Regions from separate parts of the Homo sapiens genome. Here all the other regions are linked to region 1. The links are contacts of gene promoters, found by promoter capture Hi-C in blood cells and fetal thymus (Javierre and others, 2016). All regions are on one chromosome and are shown on one strand. The core of a region is centred on a gene start or on the middle of the fragment in contact, and the rest is flanking DNA. Distances in the headings are between cores, read along the strand shown.

Evidence for each region. Contacts are between HindIII fragments. The CHiCAGO score rates a contact against its expected background, and 5 or more counts as called.
Region 2: a contact is called between a fragment that was not itself captured here and the fragment with the promoter of VPS13C in region 1, in 1 of 17 cell types (activated CD4 T cells). The highest score is 5.8, in activated CD4 T cells.
Region 3: the fragment with the promoter of BNIP2 here is called in contact with the fragment with the promoter of VPS13C in region 1 in 1 of 17 cell types (non-activated CD4 T cells); the score reaches 7.4 in non-activated CD4 T cells.

The regions. Positions count from the first base shown.
Region 1 is chr15:62,057,504-62,062,391 of GRCh38, forward strand. It overlaps VPS13C (vacuolar protein sorting 13 homolog C), which reads right to left and starts at 2,944. Exons shown (of 85, transcript NM_020821.3): 1 at 2,772-2,944. The coding sequence starts at 2,871. It overlaps VPS13C-DT (VPS13C divergent transcript), which reads left to right and starts at 3,000. Exons shown (of 2, transcript NR_135690.1): 1 at 3,000-3,340; 2 at 3,465-4,888. RefSeq lists a silencer at 2,806-3,155 and an enhancer at 3,206-3,255. The HindIII fragment of the contact is 3,439 bases long and covers 1,931-4,888 here.
Region 2 is chr15:59,652,193-59,657,080 of GRCh38, forward strand. GTF2A2 (general transcription factor IIA subunit 2) reads right to left here. Exons shown (of 5, transcript NM_004492.3): 2 at 14-134. The coding sequence starts at 85. Among named protein-coding and RNA genes, the nearest start is that of GTF2A2, 2.9 kb to the right of the region's middle. The HindIII fragment of the contact is 3,604 bases long and covers 724-4,327 here.
Region 3 is chr15:59,688,070-59,692,957 of GRCh38, forward strand. It overlaps BNIP2 (BCL2 interacting protein 2), which reads right to left and starts at 1,251. Exons shown (of 10, transcript NM_004330.4): 1 at 1,066-1,251. RefSeq lists an enhancer at 957-1,605 and a silencer at 1,019-1,528. The HindIII fragment of the contact is 5,510 bases long and covers 1-2,161 here.

The DNA.
Region 1 (4,888 bases), core at 1,694-4,193:
GTGACTTCTAGCTTTATAGCAACCACAAAAATAAAAGGCAGCAAAGCTTTACAGAGGCAGAGTTGTGAGCTGATAAAGCTAGGAGAATCCCTGATTGGATGTTCACTAGACACAATATGTGAAAGAAATGGGTTTATTTGCTCAGGCCTATTATAAAGTTAATGTTGGCCACTGGCAGAATACCTTATTCTAAAAATTTAAAAATGAGATGAAAGAAAGTCTCCTTTTCTAGATTTCACCAAAAAAAGACAAAAGGGGAAATAACATAAAATTACGACATTTTTAATTTCAGTTGTGAAAAACTTCAAAATCTTCAAGCAGTATACTCCTCAATGTCATGGTAAAACCATTATCAGAAGAACAGAATATTGGCATCACCTTCGATGTTACCTAGTCCAACCTCCAATTTTAAAGATAAAAGAGAGTAACATTTGATGGCAATGGAACCTCTGACTATATCCATACGTTTTATCTTTTTAAAAAGAAAATGTCTAAAGTAAATATGGCATAATATTATAACATTGAAATATGAGTAATTACATGAAAGTATTATATCATCCAGTATGATTTAAACTTTTCAGAATTTAAAAATATTTTTTCTATAAAGTTTAAATTAAGATGAAGAAACTAAGGCCCAATAAGGTAAGTGGCTTGTCCAACACAGCACACCATTCACTAGGCCTATTCAGATTTCAGATTTGCTACTCCGGTGCGTTTTCAAGTTTCAAATGTTTACAAACTATAAGGAATCACTGGAAAGAATATTGCCAGTATTCTGAAGAAATACTTGATTTCTGCAGAAGATGCTGGTCATTTAATTCCTTAAATGTGTCTTTCTTTACTTACCTTTCCTTTACATTGTATTGAGTGTGGTGGGGGGATGTAAACAAAGAATGTACAGTAGGCCCTCCATATTCACGGACTGAACTAACTGCAGACCAAAAATATTTCGGGGGGAAAAAATAAAAAGTATCAATTCAGCAATAAAAAAATGCAAATTAAAAAACAACAGAACAACTATTTACATAGCACTTACTTATTGGGTATTATAAGCAATCCAGAGATGACCAAAAGTATACAGAAGGATATGCATAGGGTACATACAAATACTAGGCCATTTTATTTAAGGGACTTGAGCAACCTCCAATTTTGGTATGGTCAGGGGTACTGAAGCCAATCCCCCATAGATACCAAGGGACTATTGTATTGTTGGGCAAACCACAGTGAACCAATCAAATGATCAGCCACCTATTAAAAACAGGCTCTTGCCAGGCACTATAGCTCACACCTGTAATCCTAGCACTTTGGGAGGCTGAGGCAGGAGGATCACTTCAGCCCAGGAGTTGGAGGCTGCAATGAGCTACGATCTTGCCACTGCACTCCAGCCTTGGCAACAGAGCAAGTCCTTGTCTCAAAAAGACAAGCCAAAAAAAAAAAACAACAACAACAACAACCAGGCTCTTCCGTAATTCAGGGTATAAACAGCATTGCCCAATATATGTTCCATATACGTAATTATAAATTTTAGAAGCCAAGTTTAAAAAGAAAAAAAGTAAAACTAAAAAACACGGGAAATACACTTTAATATTATATTTAATTTAACCCAATATATTCAAATATTATTTCAACACATAAGCAACATAAAAATTATTGAGGTATTATTTTTTTCTCCTACTTCATTAGGAGTAATGCTTATTCAAAACGATGTTTTAATTCATACAGCAAGTCTCAATTAGCACTAACCTCATATCAAGTGCTCCACAGCTACAGTGGCTAGTGGTTACCCTAGTGGACAGGGGAAGTCTATAGCTATTTGTTGTTGCTTGAATTAAAAGCAGATCCATACATTTGAGTCGTTTTTTGAATTTTCCTCCAAAGCTGACAAAGTTCCCAAACCTTTTGTGGAGTGAGAAAGTCCCAAAGTCCTCAAAGCTTAACACGTAATTCATGCAAACGATTAAGCTCGTTGAAGAGTGTATGTTTAAGTACACTATTTCCTGAATACTTTTATACACTTAATCTCCAGGATAAAAACGTTGGCATAAATTCCTGAGCATGCAACCAAGCAGACACCTAATTAATGACGATGCTGGTCGAGGCTTGAATTTCTCTCTATTGCTCCAAAACAAAATTCAAAATCCTCTTCGTATTGACGGAAAAGTAAATATTAAAGGAAGAAATCATTTTCACAGGAGCTGAAAGCATTAAGAGTAAGAATCCCTAAGCACACGCCTATCTTAAAGATCTCCTGCCCGTTCCTCTCCAAACCCGGTAATCCTAAAGAGAAGGAACCCAGTTCTTGCTCCCTGTAAAATGATAGTGAAGATAACTGCGAGATGCAACTTCCTCCTTTTTTCTTAGTGCCACTTCGAGCGTATATGACCAGACAACCATGCTCACTCCACGCGATACCGAAACAGAAAGGGCTCTGTTTTTATGCTGTAGGGCCAAAGGGGCCACCCTGAGTGCAGCGAGAGGACCACAGAAACGGGCAGGGCGGGGACAGCAGGGCCAGGGCTTGGCCTCGGGGGACGAGAAAGGTGGGAACTTTGGCAGCGCGGGCGGGATCCCGCCGCATCTCCCCAGCCGGAGTCGGGACTGGGACCCCGAGAATCCGCGGGCGGCAGAGGCTCCCGCATCTAGCACCTGCCGCACCGGGATGGGGAGTCTCAGGCGGCGCAGGGAGCAGGGCCCGGGCAGAATCCCGGACGGAGCAGCCCTCGGCTGGGCCCTCAGCGCCCGCAGCCCACTGGCCGCGCCCTCTCGCTTACCGCCCCAGATGCCCAGCTTCAGCTGGGACTTGTTCAGGTTCTCCACATAGTCCCCCAGGAAGCGGTTCAGCAAGTCCGCGACCACCGACTCCAGCACCATGGTGGCGCTGAGGCACAAGGAGAGGGAGGAGCCGGAACCGCCCGGCGCAGCTGAGGGCTGCGACCAGCGCTGCAAATGACAGCCCCTCCGGCGCAGGCCCACCCCCGCGCCGCGCGCGTGACCCCGCCGGTGCGCAGGCGCGCTGTCGCCCGGCCGGTAGCTAAGGAGGCCCAGCTGTGATCCCGAGGCTTTGTAGGCGCCGCAGCCCTGGCCCTCTAGAGGCCGACGGAGGAGTGCGGGGGAAGTTAGCTTGCGCCTGTCTCGTCAGCCGTGCACGAGAAAAAAAAGGACCTTCGAGAAGAACAAGGGAGGGCAAGAGTTACCGAGTACAGGGACATCTATGTGGCCGCTCTGCTTTCCCGCCGTCACCTGCTGTTGAACTCCGGCCGCATCGCGGTGTCCGGAGCCGCCTGGCCTGGAGTATGCGCTGAGCGTCACCTAGGCAACCACCCCTGCACCTGTGGATCAGGTGGGGGAAAGGGACCGACCGCGTTCTTGTCCTGCTAGAGTTCGACTCCGCCTGGGGCTTGGTCTCTGCTTCTTGAAAACATTGTTTTTTTATTTTGTTTCTGTTTTGTTTTGTTTTGAGACAGGGTCTCGCTCTGTTGCCAAGGGTAGAATGCAGTGTCGGGATCATAGCTCACTACAGACTTGACATCCTGGACTCAAGAGATCCTCCTGTGTCAGCCTCCCGAGTAGCTGGGACCACTGGCGCGCGACAAATAATTTGAAAGTGGGAGGAGGGGAACAGAACCACATCAAATGGCAGATATCATAGAATGAGAACTGAATATACGCGTTTTGTGGGAAACGCGTTCTTTTCCCCTTTCTCTAAGATTCGCTTTTAATTCACTAGCCACTAACCAGTTACCTATCTCATTACAGATATAAAAAACAAAACGTAGTAGTGCCTTTTTAAGTATGAGTTACTTGTTATTTATATATCACTTTCTTCCATGCTATCGTTGAACTGTCTTTGATGTAGCACGACCTTAAAAGCAGAGCTTTTATACCACAAGATCTTTCAACCCTTGTGAAATTTAACCACCCATTGAGATTCACCTCTTTAGAGAACTAGAAATTTTTTCCTAAAATATATTTCAAAAAGTTGTTGAGATACAGTACACAGGAAGAAACCTAAGAAATGCTGATTATTTGTAGTCACAAGCATTAATAAGTGCTTTGCTACGAGGAAGTGTCTGAGAAACTATTCGTGTATTTTTCTTAAACAACCTAGGCTTGCACAGGATCACAAAGAAAAATCTTAAATTCAAAGTCCGCTGGAGAAGAAAGAAAATCAAAATGGCTACAATTGGTGTTGTGTATTAAATAAAATTAAAAGTACAAAGAAAGACCCAGTCAGTACTAACTAGTACTATCAAGATCACATTCCTCTCCCACTTTTGCACACTCCATTCCTCTTTAAGAAGATAAATCCTTAACCGTCTGTTTTTCCTAGCTGGTCACAAAGACAAAATACTAGTAAGTACTTTGGATTTCTTCACCATCCACAACCAAATAACAGCCTAACCTGTCTATTTTGCTTTTGCCATCTTTCCTAAATTCTCCATGTTTTTCTTCTGGACCATGCCATCCATCTCCTTGAAATTCACTTCCTAGCCTCCAGTTATTCCTTCCTCCAGTCTATTCTCATGAACACCGGATGTGTTTTCCCAAAGCACAGGTGAGCTTAGGTTAGTCACCTGCTCAAAAACATCCAATAACTTCCCAGTGTTTAGAACACTCTCTTCAAACTTTCTCCACGTTCTTTCTAGTCATACACTCTAACAATCCCGCTTCCTTTTTACATTCACACTGACTATGCTCCAAGAGGAATGTAAAGAAGCAATATATGTTCTGGTTGAGATAAGGCATGTACCATAAAAAGTTAAGAAAGAAGCCAATCCAAGGATGTATGAATAACAGTATAAGATGATAGGAAAGATGGCACAGGCAACATAGCTTGGTCAAGCAGGTGGAGCAATAGGCACAATCTCTTGGGAGAAGTGAGTAACAC
Region 2 (4,888 bases), core at 1,276-3,775, 2.4 Mb before region 1:
TTCAGTCTCCCACCTGTATGAGCTCATCTAGGCTCTCCTGAAGACTGTTTCCCAAAGTAGTATTTCTGTATAACTGATATGCCATGGCTTAGGAGGAAGAATTTGTTTTTCTTATTCAAGCTTGCATTGATGTCCTAAAAATTTAATATAAAATTGTTAAAAAAGATCATACTGTAACATCATAAATTATGTATATAATATCATCTACCTCAAATATTCTAATATAGAACTAGGAGAACGCTTAGTGGTTGCACATTACTAGATAATCATTTTAGAATTACAAGGAATTGCTACAAATGATTTTCCAGTTTTTTTCCCCATGATTTTGACATGGGCATTTATACTCCTTTATGCAGTATAGCTGTTATATTTATTAAAATGTCTTTACCATTTCCTTCAAATGTCTGCCTTCTGACTTAGTCTAGAATTTTCCATGTACTGTCCTTTCTACCTGCTGTCAAGTCACTGGTAAAATCTTCAGCTCATGTTTGCATGTCTGCCCCTTTATTTTCCTGTTCTCTCTAAATTCAGTATTTACAGAGTGCCTACCAAGAGAATGGCACTGTGACAGGTTCCAGAGAGAAGATGATGATTAAAGGCATGCTCCCAATCCTAAAAATTTATACTCTAGAGAATGTAACAAACATACAAAAAGATAAGAACTGGGATAAAGATACAAAGCATACCATGGAGGCTGCCTGTAGAAGTGAGCTGGCTCAGAAAAGCTTCCAGGTTCTTTAAGCTAGACTTTAGCCAAGCAGAGGAGGGAAGTCATTCCAGAGGCTGACAGAATAGAATAAGTAAAGCCATGGAAGGATGAAATGTTTGTGGGGAAAAACATAAACTGTTCTACATTATCAGGGCATAAGTACGAATAGGGAGTGGCAGGAGATGAAGCTGAAAGAGACAGCATAGATGGAGTTGTTTGGCAGGATAGGTGCAAGCAGTGGGGAGTCACTGAAGAATTTTAGGCAGGAAAGGTCAGACAGCTGGGCTTCAGTGCGTGATTTAGAAACAGATGAGGGATGGGGGCTCGAAAAGGGTGGCAGCAGTACACAGTCAATAAATATTTACTGAGCTTCCACTACACGTCAGGTGTAAGATCTTGACCTCATGGCCCTTTCAGTCTGGAGATGGATGGGGGAAAATACATTTGAGGAGCAATCATCAGATAAAACTCAGCAAAAATAATGGCCAGCCATCAGTCCTTACATTTCACACCTTGCTAGCACTGGATTCAACAGATCATTTCTGCCTTCTTGAAACATTTCTTTGGCTTTGAGACAGCATTCTCAGTTCTCATGTCACTGGATACCATTGTATTTTTTATTTTCTTTTGCTGGTTCCTCCTCAGCTCCCTGACTTGTAACTGTTGAACTGCCCTAAGTTTTCTTGGGTCCTCTATTTTCCACATACTTTACTCTCTTAGTTACCTCATCCAGACTTACGGCTTTAAATACCATCTACTATCTGGTGATGACTCTCAAATTTGTATCTCCAGCCCTCAATTCTCCCTTTGTACCCATATATAAAACTGCCTGCTTGACACTGGATAAAAATATCAAGTAGGTAGCTCAAATTCAATTTGTCAAAAACCATGTTTCTGATGCTACTCTTGCAAATATGCTCTGTCCTCAGTCTTACCCACCTCGGTAACAGTAAACATAGTCTTCCTGTAACAGCTCAAAAACCTGAGTCAAGAGTAACTTCTCTTTTTCTTACCTGGCATCCAATCCATCAGCCAACCTTTCAGCTCGTCCTTCTAACTATAGCCAGAATCTGACAGCTTCTACCATCTTCAATGCTATTACCCTAAGTCACCATCATCTGTCACTAAAGTTAATGTGATAACTCATGGTCTCCTTATTTCCAGTCTTGCCTATCCCAACCCCACCCTCATAGTAGCCACACTAAGACTTTAAAACATAAGGCAAATCACATCACTGGTCTATTCAAAACCACCAATGGCAGCATCCCATCTCAGTGAAAACCACAGAGTCCATGGCTTGGAAGGCCTATGTGATTTGGGCCCCCCAGTGCCTACTTCCCTATCTTCGCCCACTCACCCTCTCACTCTGCTCTGGTCATACTGGTCCCCTGCTGTTCTTTGACAGGGGAAGCATGATCCTGCTTGAGGGCCTTTGTGGTGGCTCTTCTTTTTGCTGACAGTATTCTTTCCAAATACCTGCATAGTTCACTCTCTCATTTGATTCAGATCTCTGGGTCAAGCATTACTCCATCAGAAAGGCCTTCTATAATCAACCTATAAGAAAGAATTACCTTCCTTCTTCCTCACACTGCTTTATTTTCATTCATACCAATAACTGAAGCTAACATATATATGCTTATTCTGTCTCCATCTACTAAAATAGATGACACACTGAAGACAGGGACTTCTGTTCATTTACATATTTACCAACTAGAACAACGTATGTAGTATCTATTAAGTATCTGTTGAGTGAAATACTTGGTAGTATGTTAAAGTGCTAATATATTAGAAATGTATCTGAGTATGACACAAAGTATTACACTTCACTGAGGAAACTGCAGCAATAACTTCCAGACTCACAGCCACATCCAGCTACCTACCAATAGCTATACAGGTTGAACATTCCTTATCTGAAATGCTTGGGACCTGAAGTCTTTTGGATTTTAGAATATCTGCATCGTATATACTTAGTGATTGAGTACCCCAAATTCAAGCTCTGAAATGCTCCAAAGAGCATTTCCTTTCAGTGTCATGTTGGTGCTCAAAGTTTTGGATTTTGGAGCATTTTGAATTTGGGATGCCCAACCTGTACCCATATACTCTCCCTCCCTGTCACTATAGTTGAACTCTATACCTATTTTTATCTAAATCCAATCCTTCTACCTTTGTATCAGGCATTGTCTTCTAATTCACTCAAGGATATTGTTCTGACAATTCAGTTGTTACTTCTCTCCCTCACCATCAAATTTTCCCTCTCTGCGGATCATTTCCATTAGCAAACACATAGGTGGCTACTTCTCCCACCTTAAAAAGTAAAACAAAACAAAAACCCCTCAACCCAAATCCCCTGCCAGCTACATCCTATTTCTCAGTTCCCCTTTGCAGCAAAATCCCTTAGTTTTGTCTGTATTCACTGTCTCCCAATTCCTTTTTTCCTATTTTCTCTTAAGCTAATTTTTGCCTCTAGCACTCTAAGGAAACAGGTTGGTGAAGGTCATCAATGGCAATGCTAAAGCTAATTCTCTAGCCTCACTCAGAATATTGGACACAGCTGATTACTCCCTCCTCTTTCGTACAGGATCTTACCTTGGCTTCTGGGACACTGCCCTTTTCGGATTGTCCTAACTCACAAGTTCATCCTTCTTAATACTGTTTGCTGGTTGATCCCGTTTTCGCTAAACTCTTAATATCACAGGACACAGTCCTTAGGCCTCTGCTGCTTTCCGTCTACACCCATTCCTTACGGATAACATTTATTCTCATGGTTTAAGTACCACTGCTGATGATCCCCAAATTCATATAGCATAGAACTTCTCACTCCTGAATCTAGCTGCCTACTCAACATCTCTATTTGTTATCTTTTGCATCGTGGCTTAAAGAACTCCATACTTCTACGAGCTTGGGCAAAACCTTTGATTTCATCCTCCACTCCCTCTATCTCACTCTCCATATCCAATTCCTAGCAAATACTGTAAGGCCTACCTTCAAAATGCATTCAGAATCCAACCACTTCTCACCATCCCTACGGTTATCACCCTGACCTGGGCCACTCTCGTCATCTGGATTACTGCAAAAATCTCCTAAATGATTTCCCTGCTTCTACACTCACCCCTACACTCTAATCACAACTCACAGCCAGGGTGATCTTCTAAAACTTCAGTTACAACATACCTCTCCTCTATTCAAAATCTCCCATGGCTTCTATCAGCCTTTACAATGATCCGGCTACCATGATCTCTTTGACTTTATCTTCTTGTCCCTCCACCCCCAAAACTCTTGCTCATCCCTCTCCAGATACACTGGCTTCCTTGCTATTCCTCAAACATGACAGGCCTAAAAGCATTTGTATTGGCTTTCCTATCTGCCTGAATGCTCTTCCTGATATTTACTTAGCAAATTTTCTTAATTCCTTCAAGTCTTTGCTCAAATAACACCTACTAAATGAGGCTCAAACTGACCACCGTCATCTTTAAAATACCAGTTCCCACCTCCACTCTGGAACTTTCCCGTACTCCTTTATATTTCTCTTTTTTTTTTTGATGGCACCATCACTTTCTAACACCATTATATATTTTATTTTCTGCATCCTCTAATAGAATGTAAGCTCCATGAGGGCAAAGCTTTTTATTTTGTTCACTTAAGTAAAATAGGCGTCTAGAACAGTACCTGGCACACAATAGGAGCCAAAAAAAAATCTGTTCAGTAAACGAAGGCAAATATCAGTAAGTATAATATGCGTGTGGGAGGGGAGAGGGGGTTAAAAAGGGCAAGAAGTCCCAATAGGTAGATAAAAACTCCACAGAGTAGGAATACAGAATCGTGCATCGTGTCCCATTTGACAAATTTTTGAGTTTATCTAGAAAATAGCCCTGCGTTAAACGTTTGTTAAAAGTGCTGATTTCAATGTTCTTACATTCTTTAAAAATTCCTTGTTAAGTGTTCTAATCTTTTAGATGTGGTATCAGCCACAGAAATTTATTGTTCCCTTCTTGTTTTGCAGTTCAGAAAATTAGAAGTCAAATTCGGAAGTAACTCGTCCTAGCATTTTTTGATTAAACCACCAAGTTTAAAATTCGTTCCTTTTGTCGGAGTTCGCACGAAGAAAGTTGGAAGGCAGACTTCAAACAACAAGCTACAAAGCACAGGAATGAGACATTTAAAAAATGCTCTCCGAAATTC
Region 3 (4,888 bases), core at 1-2,500, 2.4 Mb before region 1:
GTTTGCAGAAGTGGATCTGTCATACTTCCGGTCTAAGCCCAGCAGTATTAGGCTGCACTAGAGAATATGAAGACTAGGAATAGAGTTTAGAGAAAATGTAAACCAAAAAGAACTAAGAATATGTGCAAAATGATCAAGAAACTAGTCTGCAGGGGTAACTTAATTGGGTAAGGTCAGTTGTAACTTTGAGGAAACATCCATTTACAAATTACAGAATTTGTTTCTACAATTGCAGAGATTCCTATAAAATGTTAGAAAAACTACATTTAATTGAAAATACGAAATCAGGTATTAGGTGAAATAGAGATCCTAATCAAGAGAAGGTGAGAATGAAAAAAGCAACACTAAAATGCAATCACATAGTTTATTCAATTAAATAAATAGGAGGCACCGTAACTATCTTGATGCAACACCGGAAAAGCTGTTTCGTCAAAGAGCTCACAAGACACAGACAAGTAACTCTCCAGCGGCATGAAATGCATCCAGAAATCCAAACCATTTTGCCAGGTATTTAAACAGAAAGGGTTGTGTCTAGATTCACGCGGGGACTCGGCTTTTGACGTACACACTCTGTATTTGGTTTAGCGTACTAGGGAAGATCTATTAAAGCCCTGATTACTTATGCTGCTTCCGTGTCTATTCCCCGCGGTTACGAGGCATACCAGAAGTCCAAGTTTCTTTGTTCTGTACCAGGACGGACGCTGGTCATAAATACTGAACCATCGTAGCCCAGCCACTTCACCCACACCAGGGTAAAAGGGTGGGGGAGCGGAGGAGGGGCAAGGTTCCATCCCGAGCACAACTACCAGAAACGGAAAAGCGACGGGGTGGGGGGCCAAACTGCCAAATACAAACAGGACCCAAGCCAAGGGCGGGGACCTAAGCAGGGCGGGGATCCAGGAAGCACCTCCCGAGCAGGTTCTATGGCTCCCCCTACCAAGGGTAACTCTCTGGGTTTCCTCTCCCCGGACGTCGTGGGCACGCGCCCGACAGACTTTCGCCCCTAGGCCGGTTCCCAGTCCAGCTCCGGAGCCACCGTGCCGAGTTCTCCCAGGCCGCACTCACCCCGGAGGAAGCCTTGGCCCCCTCGTCCTCTTCGCCCCTCCAGGCCGGCGACGTGGGGCTGACGGCCAGGTCGCAAAAAGCAGGGCCGAGCGGAGCCCGCTCCCCTCGGTCGGCGGTGGAGACCCCGGCCCAATCCCCCGGCCGCAGCGGTACGGCGTCGGCGGCAGCAGCTGACCCGGACACAGTGAGAAGCCCCGGCGGAAGTGATAACATCCCGACCTCCTCCGGGCGCGGCAGCCGGCGGTGGAGGCGGCGGGGGCGTGGCGGCGGCGGAGGCGTGGCGTCTTCTTGAAACCCACACAGCATCCCCCCAACCCCCTCAGACGTCACGGGCTAGCGCTCGCGCCTGCACTCGCGGGGTCGGCCTTCCTTGCCTGTGGGCGGACCCGTCGCGTCGACTCCTTATTGGTGGCGTTACTACGCCTCAAGGCGTTTCTTCCCTCTTTGCTGTTCGCAGGGACGCTGCCTGGTAGTTTCAGTTACTTTTGTTTTCTTTCTGCCTGCCTTTATTGATCATTACAGTAGGTGAAATTATCGATATCAATAATAATATTGTAATACAATAGGTGCAATTATCAATATCAATATTATTACAACAGGTGCAATTATCAGTATCATTACAATAGGTGCAATTATCAGCGATCAATAATGTGAATTATAAAATGGATGAAATAAGGGGAGGAGGTCGGGCGCGGTGGTTTACGCTTGTAATCCCAGCACTTTGGGAGGGCGAGGCGGGTGGATTACCGGAGGTCAAGAGCTCGAGACCAGCCTGGCCAACATGGTGACACCTCGTCTCTACTAAACAAACAAAAATTAGCTGGGCGTGGTGGCGCGCGTCTGTAATCCCAACTACTCAGGAGGCGAGGGCGGAGGCGGAGGCGGAGTTGGAGTTTGCAGTGAGCCGAGATCGTGCCATTGCACTCCAGCTTGGGCAACAGAGCAAAAACTCCGTCTCAAATAAAAGGAAAAAGGAAAAAAAAAAAAAAAGAAAAAGAAAAAAAAGAAATAAGGCGAGGAAAAATATCCGAGGCATCATTTTGGGGAGTTAGGCCTCAGAAGCGACCTTAGAGTTTGGTAATATTTGAGTGTGAAAAGCTTTACAGCAGTGCTTCTCTTCACTGGGGGAACGGTCGGTTTATTTTTTTCAATTTTCAATTAGTTTTTGACAAGTTAATAAAACAGAAAAATGAAAAGACATACAAAGTCCAAGTCAAAACTTTTTATCGTTAGAGTTAACAGCCATAAAATTACCTGCAAAATTGACATAGAGTTTTCTACTCTCTCTCTGTGAACCATTTGCAAACAGTTCTCAGAAGAGCCCAGGTCTATAGACCATGGTTAGAGTACTCAAGGTAAACTACTCAAATTAGACCATACTCAGCTGTAGAGTTTCAACCAAATGAGATTTGTTTGGAGAACATCATAGTCTCTCTCAGTTGGGCGTGCTGGCTCATGACTGTAATCCCAGCACTTTGAGAGGCCGAGTCGGTAGATCGCCAGACCTCAGGGCAACATGGCGAGACCCCATCTCTTAAAAAAAAAAAAAAAAAAAGAGACAGAGAAAGAAAGAAAGAAAAAGAAGCAAAGAGAAAGAAAGGAAGAAAGAAAGAAAAGAAGAAAATTAGGTGGGCTTGGTGGCATGCACCTGTGGTCCCAGCCACTTGGGAGGCTGAGGTGGGAGACTCTCTGGAGCCTGGCAGGCGGCGGTTGTAGTGAGCCAAGATCGCGCCACTCCACTCCAGCCTGGGTGACAGCGAAACCCTGTCTTAAAAAAAAAAAAAAGTCCCTTTCCAAAGTTTCATCTGATAAATCCATAGAAAGGCTCAGCATCAAGTATTTGGGTGATTCCATTGGGGTACGATCAGGCCTGAGGGGAACAGAAAAGCTCAAAATTTTAAATCATTGACTAAAAATGCAGCATTCTGCCTGGATTTCACATTGCTTTGGCAACATTTACCCACCATTGGTAGATTAAAGTCCGTCTCTTTGATAAAATGGGAAGAAAATAGTACCTACCTTATAGGGTTTTTGTGAGATGAATTCATATATATGTATTAGGACCTTGGTTGTCATATTGTAATCACATTTAAGTATTAGGTATTCTTTTTATCCTAGTCTAGCAATTTCACTAAATAGCTAGTAGAGAAAACAAAACTGATCAACAGAGCTTTAGCTAAACAACTACTTGGGCCAAGAAATTTCATCTTGATTTACAGAAGTTTTTGTAGTTTCATACTTTGCTTCTTCAGTTCTGCAATGTGCAGAATTCCCCACAGGGTGGCAGAAAATCACTGGAAATCATATATAGTTATGTGATTTCTTTTTTTTAAGATCTTCAGTTCCTTCTTCATTTTAGTAACTTTATTATTTAATAAGCTTGATCAGTGTTTGCTTTGGTTTCGAGTAAGCCATCCTATTACTTATCTTTTTATCCCTATCTTGTTAATTATCCATACTTATTGTTGAAACATTACAAACTACAAGTAAGCCAAAAAGATAATTATTATTAACATATTTATGTATAGCCTTTCAGATTATATATATATATATATTCACACACATATATATTTTATGTATAAATTGCACATATAAGTCTTTATAAAAATCAGATAATGTACTTAGTGGTTTATAATCTCCATTTTCTTCTTTTCATTTAAAATATGAGCTGGGTGCAGTGGCTCACACCTGTAATCCCAGCACTTTGGGAGGCTGAGGTGGGTGGATCACCCGAGGTCAGGAGTTCGAGACCAGCCTGGCCAACGTGGAGAAACCACGTCTCTACTAAAATTACAAATATCAGCTGGGTATGGTGGTGGGCACCTGTAATCCCAGCTGCTTGGGGGTGCTGAGGTAGGAGAATCACGTGAACTCAGGAGGTGGAGGTTGCAGTGAGCCAAAATCACACCATGCACTCTAGCTTGGGCAACAGAGTGAGACTGTGTCTCAAAAATAAATAAATAAATAAAAATACAGATTCTGAGGCTTCACCCTCTACAGTCTATGGAAAGATATGGGAATCTATATTATAAAAATAAATAATTAAAATATATTATGAACTCTTTTTCAAGTCAATAAATACATTCCAATGCTATTATTTTCATTATGGATAATGTATATATTAAACAATCCTTTATTGAACTTTTAGATTGTTCCTTTTTTTTTTTTCTTTTGAGACAGGGTCTCACTTTGTTGCCAGGCTGGAGTGCAGTGGCATGGTCTCAGCTCACTGCAGCCTCCACTTTTTGATTTAAGTGATTCTCGTGCCTCAGCCTCTGGAGTAGCTGGGATTATAGGCATGTGCCACCATGTCTAAGTTGTGTACTTTTGGAGAGACAGGTTTTTGCCATGTTGCCCGGGGTTGTCCTGAACTCCTGGCCTCAAGTGAACTCCTGCCCACCTTGGCCTCCCAAAATGCTGGGAATACAGGTGTGAGCCACCACGCCCGGCCTTGTTCAATTTTTTTTTTTTTTTTTTTTTTTGAGATGGAGTCTCACTCTGTCGCCCTGGCTGGAGTGCAGTGGTGCGATCTCGGCTCACTGCAATCTCTGCCTCCCGGGTTGAAGTGATTCTCCTGCCTCAGCCTCTCAAGTAGCTGGGATTACAGGCATGCACCACCACGCCTGGCTAATTTTTGTGTAGTAGCGACAGGGTTTCACCATGTTGGTCAAGCTAGTCTTGAACTCCTGACCTCAGGCAATCCTCCCGCCTTGGCCTCCCAAAGCGCTGGACAACACTTCATAGGTGTTCAAAAAGTCAGAAACATAGGACTAATTTATTTTCAAACAATGTATTAGTAACATTTCGAAATAATATTGCTCAA